3 separate regions of the Homo sapiens genome follow, and all the other regions are linked to region 2. The links are contacts of gene promoters, found by promoter capture Hi-C in blood cells and fetal thymus (Javierre and others, 2016). All regions are on one chromosome and are shown on one strand. Each heading gives the region's core, a stretch centred on a gene start or on the middle of the fragment in contact. The rest is flanking DNA. Distances are from core to core; before and after follow the strand shown. Region 1 overlaps ZFPM1 (zinc finger protein, FOG family member 1). Region 2 holds the start of KLHDC4 (kelch domain containing 4). Region 3 has its middle 15 kb from the start of ZFPM1-AS1.

What was found. The method cuts DNA at HindIII sites, captures the fragments that hold promoters and counts their contacts. A CHiCAGO score of 5 or more calls a contact.
Region 1: a contact is called between a fragment that was not itself captured here and the fragment with the promoter of KLHDC4 in region 2, in 1 of 17 cell types (naive B cells). The highest score is 8.4, in naive B cells.
Region 3: a contact is called between a fragment that was not itself captured here and the fragment with the promoter of KLHDC4 in region 2, in 1 of 17 cell types (naive B cells). The highest score is 5.2, in naive B cells.

Annotation. Positions count from the first base shown.
Region 1 is chr16:88,523,842-88,527,017 of GRCh38, forward strand. It overlaps ZFPM1 (zinc finger protein, FOG family member 1), which reads left to right. Exons shown (of 10, transcript NM_153813.3): 5 at 2,973-3,075. The region is part of intron 2 of ZFPM1-AS1 (ZFPM1 antisense RNA 1); the gene reads right to left. Among named protein-coding and RNA genes, the nearest start is that of ZFPM1-AS1, 5.6 kb to the right of the region's middle. RefSeq lists enhancers at 1,619-2,206, 2,207-2,793, 3,021-3,176. The HindIII fragment of the contact is 918 bases long and covers 827-1,744 here.
Region 2 is chr16:87,764,417-87,767,240 of GRCh38, forward strand. KLHDC4 (kelch domain containing 4) reads right to left here and starts at 1,570. Exons shown (of 12, transcript NM_017566.4): 1 at 1,376-1,570. The coding sequence starts at 1,474. It overlaps LOC105371399 (a long non-coding RNA gene), which reads left to right and starts at 1,625. Exons shown (of 3, transcript XR_933871.3): 1 at 1,625-1,925. LOC102724467 (a long non-coding RNA gene) reads right to left here. Exons shown (of 4, transcript NR_120309.1): 4 at 1,915-2,008. RefSeq lists enhancers at 858-1,482, 1,466-1,525, 1,606-1,665. The HindIII fragment of the contact is 5,415 bases long and covers 1-2,824 here.
Region 3 is chr16:88,544,666-88,547,512 of GRCh38, forward strand. No RefSeq gene overlaps it. Among named protein-coding and RNA genes, the nearest start is that of ZFPM1-AS1, 15 kb to the left of the region's middle. The HindIII fragment of the contact is 6,306 bases long and covers 1-2,847 here.

The DNA.
Region 1 (3,176 bases), core at 36-2,535, 760 kb after region 2:
CTGCCCCTCCCCACCCGCACAGCCAGGCCAGGCGCCCCGTCGCGCCCCACATACGCGGGGTGCACTCGGCGGGGCCGGGCGGGAACATGGCGCCTGCCCTCCACTCGGGACCGCCACAGAAAAATCGGGGGTGCGTGCAGCGTCAGCACAGTTGCGGCGCGTGTTTTTATCATGCTGGGAACACGCTGCTCCTGGGAGTGATAAGCATTAAACCGGCCGGCAGGCTGTCAGTCTCAGTTTGAGGGTTTAGAAATATTGGGACGAATAATTAGATTTCATATCGTTACCGCAGCACCCATCGGAGGATCAAGCAGATTAATTTTTTTCACCCTCCTCTGCTCATTAATATTCATTAGAGGCTCAGGAAGGCCAGGGTGGGGAGGGCCAGGCCCCAGCAGCCTCGCCGAGCGCTGCCCGCCTGGCTCGGGAGCAGCCGGGACACAGTAGCCGCCGGTCACCCACCTTTGTGCCAGGAATGTGCCTGCCCATTGCCCCTGGGGTTTACCCCCCAGCCTGCCCCAGCAGAAGCCCCCATCGGAGCCGGCAGAGCCCCACAGCTGGCGTGCAGTTCCTGAGCCCTGCTCTGCGGCCCTGGGAATCACGGGGGTGTCCTTTAAAAGGGGGGCACCCACCCGATGCCAGCCTGCACAAAGCACCTTTCTCGGGGCAGCCACTCACCACAGTGGACACTCAGCATGTGCTGCCCCGGACATGCCCTGTGGACGGCACCCCATGCCCACTTTGTCCTGCCAGGTCAACCCAAAAGCAACAGCCAGGGCTGGAGCTAATATGCATCCTGTGCTGGGAACCTGCCAGGCAGGCAAAAAGCTTCACACAGATCATGGCCTCCCAACATACCGGGAGGAAACTGAGTCAAAGGAGATAGGACTGACCCCCCTGAGACTGCCCCAAAGGCTAATGGTGGGCTTCGGGTGGGTCCAGAGTGAGCAGGGGCTCGGCCGCCCCTCTGTCCCCCCAACAGCCATGTGGGGAGAGGGCAGAGCCCCGTCTGCAGAGGAGAACCTGAGCCAGGGGTTGGGGTGGCTGCTGGGGACGGCTTCACACTGGGACTGCAGGGTTGCACCCACCCCAGCCAGGGCACCCACCCCACTGGCCAGCTTAGCTCTGCTCACCCGTTCTGTGGCTGAGCCGTGTGGTAGCAGGCAGGTGACGTGGAAGCCACCTGCTCTGCTGGCCAGCCCGCCTGAACCTTGCCTGAGTAGTCACTGAACGTCCCAGCCCAAAGGCTGTATCTTGCTAGATTCCTGAGTGCCCTGCGGATGGGCCAAGAGGCAGGGGTGGCCCAGAGGGGTCCCTGCATACGGGTCTGGTCGTGCCCTGCCCAAGGTCGCAGCAGGGAGGCCGAGCCTGGCTGGGACCCCACTGCCCACCTCTGCGGCCCACAGGGTCCCACGCGTGCTGGCAAAGTCCAGGAAAGCTCATGGGCTGGCACCTAGTGGGGAGGTACCCCAGACCCACAGGGGACATCCCTGCACTGTCACCAGCCCGACCCCTTGTACCATGGCAGGGTTGGGCTGACTGCCATCCTCACCACAGGGCTGCACAAACCTGTCCCGGGCCAGCGGCAGCATTTGTAGGTGACACTGGCTTTTCAGGCAAAGGTCATGGTGCAGGAAGTTTCTGATTAAAAGGCATTCATTTGTATAGAACAAAAAGTGTGTTTACAGGAAGTGCTGGAGCACGCGTGTATGCTGTGCCTCCAGATTGGACACCCAGGTGGCTAAGCTTGGGGACCACCAGTGCAGTGAGCAGCACAGGGCTGAGGGTCAGGGCACTGAGGCTGAGTCAGCCTTGCAGGAGGGACCGAGGCCTGAGGGGCAGCGGCGGTCACCCCTTCCTCCGTCACCATTTTCTCCCCTTGATGTCTGACCAGTGTTGGGCACCACAGAGCGAGGCCATGGACTGCCCGCCCCACCTCGCCCTGTCCCAGCCCCCGACTGCACTGGGATGGGGCCCCTCGCATTTCCTCTGCCATTCAGCTGGGGGCCGGGGTGCAATGGATGCAGGAAACGAGGCGGCCTCCACGGGCTCGGCCCAGAGTGTTTTCCTTCCAGACTTAGCCTGAGCCACCGCCGACAGCATGGCATGGCCCGAGGCACTGGCATGAGCTCTGTCCCTCCCCTTCCCAGGCCTCAGTTTCCTCACCCATGAGATGGAGAGGAGGGTACTGCCTGCTTTCCAGGGTGACAGTGAGGCCAGGGGGGCCAGGGCCGATCCAACACAGTGCTGGTGTCTCAGGCCCACAGGAAGGGGCCTGACCAGCCTCAGGGTGGGGACAGACCTGCTGAGTCCACCAGGTGCTCCCCAGCGTCCGCCGTGTGCCGGCCCCGGGAGCGAGCGGGAACGCAGGTGGCCCTGCCACGCCCTGTGGCAGGGAGGGGAGCCATGCTGTCAGGAGGACACTGAGGCCCGAGGGTTGCTAGGGAAGTGCCGTATCTTCTGGGCTAATCTCGGCCCCAGCCCACAGAGGTCATTCTGGAGGCATCTAGGGCCTGTGTGGAAGGAGCCTCTACCAGGTCCAGCCCCTGTGGGAACAGCGGTTTCACACCCAGCACTCTGGGGGCAAGGGTGGGCGAGCAGTGGGGAGAACACAGATACGCAGACCCGGGTGTGAGTTCAGGCTCTGCTGCTCCCTGGCTGTGTGACCTGGAGCATGTTGCTCGACCTCTTTGGGCCTCAGTCTCCACAAGAACCCTGCGCCCAACCCTGGAAGGTACTACTCCCTGCCAAGCCTCCCAGCCCCAGCACGGTGTTAGCCCCACCGGTCAACTATGGCACAGATGGCCCATGCCACACCTCTGCCAGCTCTTGGGCCAATGACTGTCCACAGCTTGGCCTACCAGCCAAGCCGGGAGGCAGATCCGTGTCACAGATGCCCCACATACTCACGGGAACCCCCAGGCAGGCTGCTGACGGACCCCTCCCCACGTGTTCCTACCCTCCCCCCCCAGAGCCCAGCCCTGACCCTGCTGCTGGTGGACGAGGCCTGCTGGCTGAGGACGCTGCCCCAGGCCCTGACTGAGGCCGAGGCCAACACAGAGATCCACAGGAAGGGTCAGTATGACGCGGCACCTCCGTCCCAAGCCTTCCGGAAGGTGGGGGTCACTTGGCTCCCCCTGGGCTGAGCCCTTAAAGGGAAACCAGCCTGCTAGGGC
Region 2 (2,824 bases), core at 320-2,819:
AGGCGAGCGCATCACCTGAGGTCAGGAGTCCCAGACCAGCCTGACCAAAACGGTGAAACCCGGTCTCTATTAAAAATACAAAATTAGCTGGGTGTGGTGGTGCATGCCTGTAATCTCAGCTACTTGGGAGGCTGAGGCAGGAGAACCACTTGAACCTGGGAGGCGGAGGTGCAGTGAGCTGAGATCGCACCATTGCACTCCACCCTGGGCAACAAGAGTGAAACTCCTTCAAAAAAAAAAAAAAAAAAAAAAAAAAAAAGCAGAAAGCAGCTAACAGCTGGTTACTGAGTGCTTACTTTCTGCCAAGCACCATTCTGAAGATACCACACAGATGAACTGACTTCCTGTGCCACAACCCTAGCCAGCAGGTCATGCCACTGCAGCCCAGCCTAGGTGACAGAGCAAGACTCTGTCAAAAAAAAAAAAAAAAAAAAGAAAGAGCCTAAGAGGAGTGTGAGGGAAAAGTCCAACTCCATTATTTAAGAGATGAGGACATGGAGAGATCAATGACTTAGGAAGAAAAGGGACAAAGGACTGTGGTCAAGAGCTCCTGATTCAGGACATCTGGTCACATCCCAGTTCCATACCACTTCATGGTTCACCTGTTGGTCTTCCTGTCAAATGGGAATACCAGTGCTACGGAACTGACCTGCTCGTGAGGAGTAAAGCCCAGGGAGCTGTGCCTGGCGCACGGCAGGCCATAAAACTGGCCCCGGTTAGGGAATCCATGAGCAGCAGCCGCAGAACACTCAACCCCAAGGTCAGGACGGATCCTCCTGCAGACCCCGGGCTGAGGACCAGAGGGAAGGAGACAACCGTGATGGCCGCCATCAGCTGCTACGGGATACCCCGTGGCTCCAGTGCCTTCTTCACTTAACCATCTGCTGCTCACTGCTCAGGGCTGCTGTGATGATTATTTGCCCTCTTTTGAAAGAAAAGTAAGGTTCAGAAAAGTTAAGAGTCTTACTCCCAGACCACACATCATGCAGAGGCAGCCCCCGGCTCAACCTCAGGTCTTCCTGTGCCAAACCCCTCCCTCTTCTCACCACCCAGCCTCCCTTCAGAGGGAGGGTGGAGGGAGAAGGGAGGAGGGGGAGGAAACGCAGAAAAACGCCCGTGACACCACACTAAGAAAAGCAAGCACGTTAAAGGGGGCAGCTCCGAGAAGCGGACAGACACACGTGGAGACTCAGGAGGGGGCGGGCCCCGTCTGGGCTGCCCGGACGCGGCGCCGGGGCAGTTCCTACGGCCTCCAGCTCTCCCGCAGGGCCGGCGCGGCTCCCACGGCCGACCCGTAACCCCGGGGGGCGCAGGGAGTCGGCCGAGGCTGCACGGCCGCGACGTCGGGCCGCTAAGCCCGGTCTGACCCGCTCACCTCCTCCTTCCGCGAGCGCTTAGACACCTTCTTCTCCATCTTGGCGGCCGTCTTCTCCGCGCCGCGGCCCTTCTTCTCCTTCTTGCCCTTCTTGCCCATCTTGCCGGGTCCCAAGCCGCGACGGGACACCAGGAAAGAAAACGGCCCGCGCTCTCCGCTCGGAAACAGGTGCTCGTGGGGCGGAGCTCGGCGCACAGAAATGGAGTCACTTCCGGCCCCGAGTTCGAGCCGCTTCCGGGTAGAGGTGCGGCTGGGCCCTTTACGAGGTTCGGTCTTGGAGCTCCGTCTTCGGCAGCGGGCTCGGGGGCCTCGGACTCTGCATAAGGCCCCGGAAAAGATGACCGGCCCCGGGCTGGGCGCGGTGGCTCATGCCTGTAACCCTGGAGCTTTGGGAGGCCTTGGCGGGCGGATCGCTTGAGTCCAGGAGTTCGAGATCAGCCTGGGCAACAAAGCGAGACACCACCCCCCACCCCCAGTCGCTACAGAAGAAAAAAAAAAAAATTAACCGGGCGTGGTGTCTCGCGCCCAGTGGTCCTAGCTCCTCGGGAAGGTGAGGCGGGAAGATCGCTTGAGTCAAGGAGTTCCAGGCAGCAATGCGCCCCTGCACCCCAACCTGGGCGACAGAGCGAGATCCTGTTTCAAAAAACAAAAAAGATGGCAGCCCCGGCCTGACATACCCCGGCCATGCTCGCCAATTCTCACGCCCTGTGCCCCCACCTAGCCTGTCCCCGTGTCCTAGGAGACGTGCCCTCTGAGTTTTATTTTTTATTTCTATTTTTTTGAGGCAGGGTCTTGCTCTGTCGCCCAGGCTGGAGTGCGGTAGCGCGATCTCGGCTCGCTGTAACCTCCGCCTCTGGAGTAGCTGGGACCACAGGAGCCCACCACGCCCGGCTCATTTTCTCTTGAGTTTTCCGGGGTGCACGTGCCCCCCGTTAAGGCACATTGCTTCGCCCTGGGTAGAACTAAGTGGGCGACTCTTGGGCTAGCCCCATTTTTTCCCCTCAGACCAAACAAATGAGTGCTTTTTTCCCAGAAAAAAAATTTCACACAGTTATAAGATTTTGCAGATCCTGAGTAAGACAGTCCCTGCCGGGCGCGGTGGCTCACGCCTGTAATCCCAGCACTTTGGGAGGCCGAGGTGAGTGGATCACGAGGTCAGGAGTTCGAGACCAGCCTAGCCAACATGGTGAAACCCCCGTCTCTACTAAAACTACAAAAATTAGCCAGGCGTGGTGGTGGGCACCTGTAATCCCAGCTACTTGGGAGGCTGAGGCAGGAGAATTGCTTGAACCCAGGGGGCAGAGGTTGCAATGAGCTGAGATCAAGCCACTTCACTCCAGCTTGGGCAAAAGAGCAAAATTCCATCTTAAAAAAAAAAAAAAATGGGGGGGCCCTTCCACCTTCCCATTTAAAATGTGCCAGACACTGTTAGGTACTAAGGGCATGTCC
Region 3 (2,847 bases), core at 184-2,683, 780 kb after region 2:
ACTTTGGGAGGCCAAGATGGGTGGATCAAGAGGTCAGGAGATTGAGACCATCCTGGCTAACACGGTGAAACACCATCTCTACTAAAAAAATACAAAAAATTAGCCAGGCGTGGTGGTGGGCGCCTGTAGTCCCAGCTATTCGGGAGGCTGAGGCAGGAGAATGGCGTGAACCCGGGAAGCGGAGATTGTGGTGAGCGGAGATCGCGCCACTGACTCCAGCCTGGGTGACAGAGCGAGACTCTGTCTCAAAAATAAATAAATAAATAGATAAAATAAGAGACAGGGTCTCACTATATTGCCCAGGCTGGTCTGTGAACCGCTGTGCTCGATTGGTCCTCCTGCCTCAGCCTCCCAAAGTGCTTGGATCACAGGCATGAGTCGCCGCACCTGGCCAACACGGGGGCAGTTTTTGATGCAATGTCTGCAGTGGCTGGAGGGAGCTGGGCTCCTGCTCACATCATGCTTTGTGCTTCGGTTGCTCCCACTTCAGGGCTGCACTCACCCTCCCTCAGCAAACCTCAGACTTGGAAGAGGCTACCATGAGGGTGTGTGGCTTGGTTTAGACCTTGTTGACAAAGAAGTCAGTTAATCCCAAGTTCAGTAACTAATAAACATCAGCACATGGTAACACACAGTCTAACTACTAGTTTTTTTGTTTTTTTTTGTTTTTGGGTTTTTTTTTGAGACGGAGTCTTGCTCTGTCGCCCAGGCTGGAGTGCAGTGGCTCCATCTTGGCTCACTGCAACCTCCGCCTCCCAGGTTCAAGCGATTCTCCAGCCTCAGCCTCCTGAGTAGCTGGGATTATGGGCCTGGGCCACCACGTCTGGCTCTGTGAGTCAGCACAGGGAATCTTACCATGGACGCTGCCGGGAGATGCAGGGCCACTCAGGTGTGCACGTACACTGGATTCAAATACAGGCAGCAGACATAGACAACGATGCCGGGAGAGGGGCGGCTGGCAGAAGAATGGCCCCAAAGATGCCTGTGTTTTCATCCCCAGGGGGAGCCTGTGAAGGCGCAGCCTCATGCAGCAGAGGGGAGTTAAGGCTGCAGGGGAAGTTGAGGTTGCTCATCAGCTGACCCAAGATACAGAGATTACCCTGGATCATCCTGGTGGGCACAGCATAATCACAAAGTTCTTATCAGTGGAAGAGGGGTCAGGAAGAATACCAGAGAGGTGGGATGGGAGGACTCAATGGGCTTTGAAGATGGGGGGGGTGCCATGAGCCAAGGAACGGGGAGGCTTCCAGAATAAGCAGCTGGTTCTCCTCAGGAGCTCCCAGCTGGGGCCAGCCCTGCTCACGCCTGGACCTCAGCCAGTGAGACCCGCTTCAGTGAGCCCCACTGGCTCCTGAAGGCTGCTGCACCTGACTCAGGATAGCTGGGACTTGGAGTAGGGTGGGACACAGGGCACAGAGGGCCGGCCAGGGCTGCAAAAAGATCCCGGTGGCACCTCATGAGCTGGGGACAGGGGTCCTGTGCCCGACCATCTTGCGTCTCTTTTTGTTTCTACCTTTGCAATAATAATAATACAAGTAAAGTCAGATAGAAGTTCAGGAAGCATGCACATGGGATGCTCCAGTCTCCAGCCAGCACGAGGAAATCATCACTCTCCAATCAAAGGCAGAGGGCGAACAATGGCGCCATCACGGTGCACTGCAGCCTCAACCTCCTGAGCTCAAGGGGTCCTCCCACCTCAGCCTCCTAGGTGCTGAGGACCACAGGCGTGCAGCACCATTCCCAGCTATTTTTTTTTACTTTTTGTAGAGATGGCATCTCACTATGTTGCCCAGTCTGGTATCCACCTCCTTACTTAAGCAATCTTCCTTCCTCAGCCTCTCAAAGTGCTGGGATTACAGGCATAAGCCACCGCACCCAGGCCCGAGGTTGAGCTTTTGAGTGGCTGTCACCCTACTTTCCACAACAGTCACACCGATTGCTGTTCCCATCAGCAGTGCATGCCAGGCCTCCACATCCCACCAACACATGCTGCAGCACTGTCTGACTTCAGCATCTGAATGCATGAGAAGCGGAGTCTCACTGGGGCTGTAATCTGCATTCTCCAGTGACCGGCAGTGCCACGCAGCATCCCCCTGCTCACTGGCCACTGTATGTCTATGGAGAAACATCTGTCCAGACCCATCGCCCATCTCTGCACCTTTCTGCTCATTTCTAAGGTGAGAAAACAGAGGGTGGACAAGGTGAGGGAAGAGAGGGTGGAGAAGGCGAGGGGACAGAGGGTGGGGAAGGTGAGGGGACAGAGGGTGGAGAAGGTGAGGGGACAGAGGGTGGAGAAGGTGAGGGGACAGAGGGTGGGGAAGGTGAGGGGACAGAGGGTGGAGAAGGTGAGGGGACAGAGGGTGGGGAAGGTGAGGGGACAGAGGGTGGAGAAGGTGAGGGGACAGAGGGTGGAGAAGGTGAGGGGACAGAGGGTGGGGAAGGCGAGGGGACAGAGGGTGGGGAAGGCGAGGGGACAGAGGGTGGGGAAGGCGAGGGGACAGAGGGTGGGGAAGGCGAGGGGACAGAGGGTGGGGAAGGCGAGGGGACAGAGGGTGGGGAAGGCGAGGGGACAGAGGGTGGGGAAGGCGAGGGGACAGAGGGTGGGGAAGGCGAGGGGACAGAGGGTGGGGAAGGCGAGGGGACAGAGGGTGGGGAAGGCGAGGAGAGGGTGGGGAAGGCGAGGGGACAGAGGGTGGGGAAGGCGAGGGGACAGAGGGTGGGGAAGGCGAGGGGACAGAGGGTGGGGAAGGTGACCGGACAGAGGGTGGGGAAGGTGCGGGGACAGAGGGTGGGGAAGGTGCGGGGACAGAGGGTGGGGAAGGTGAGGAGACAGAGGGTGGGGAAGGT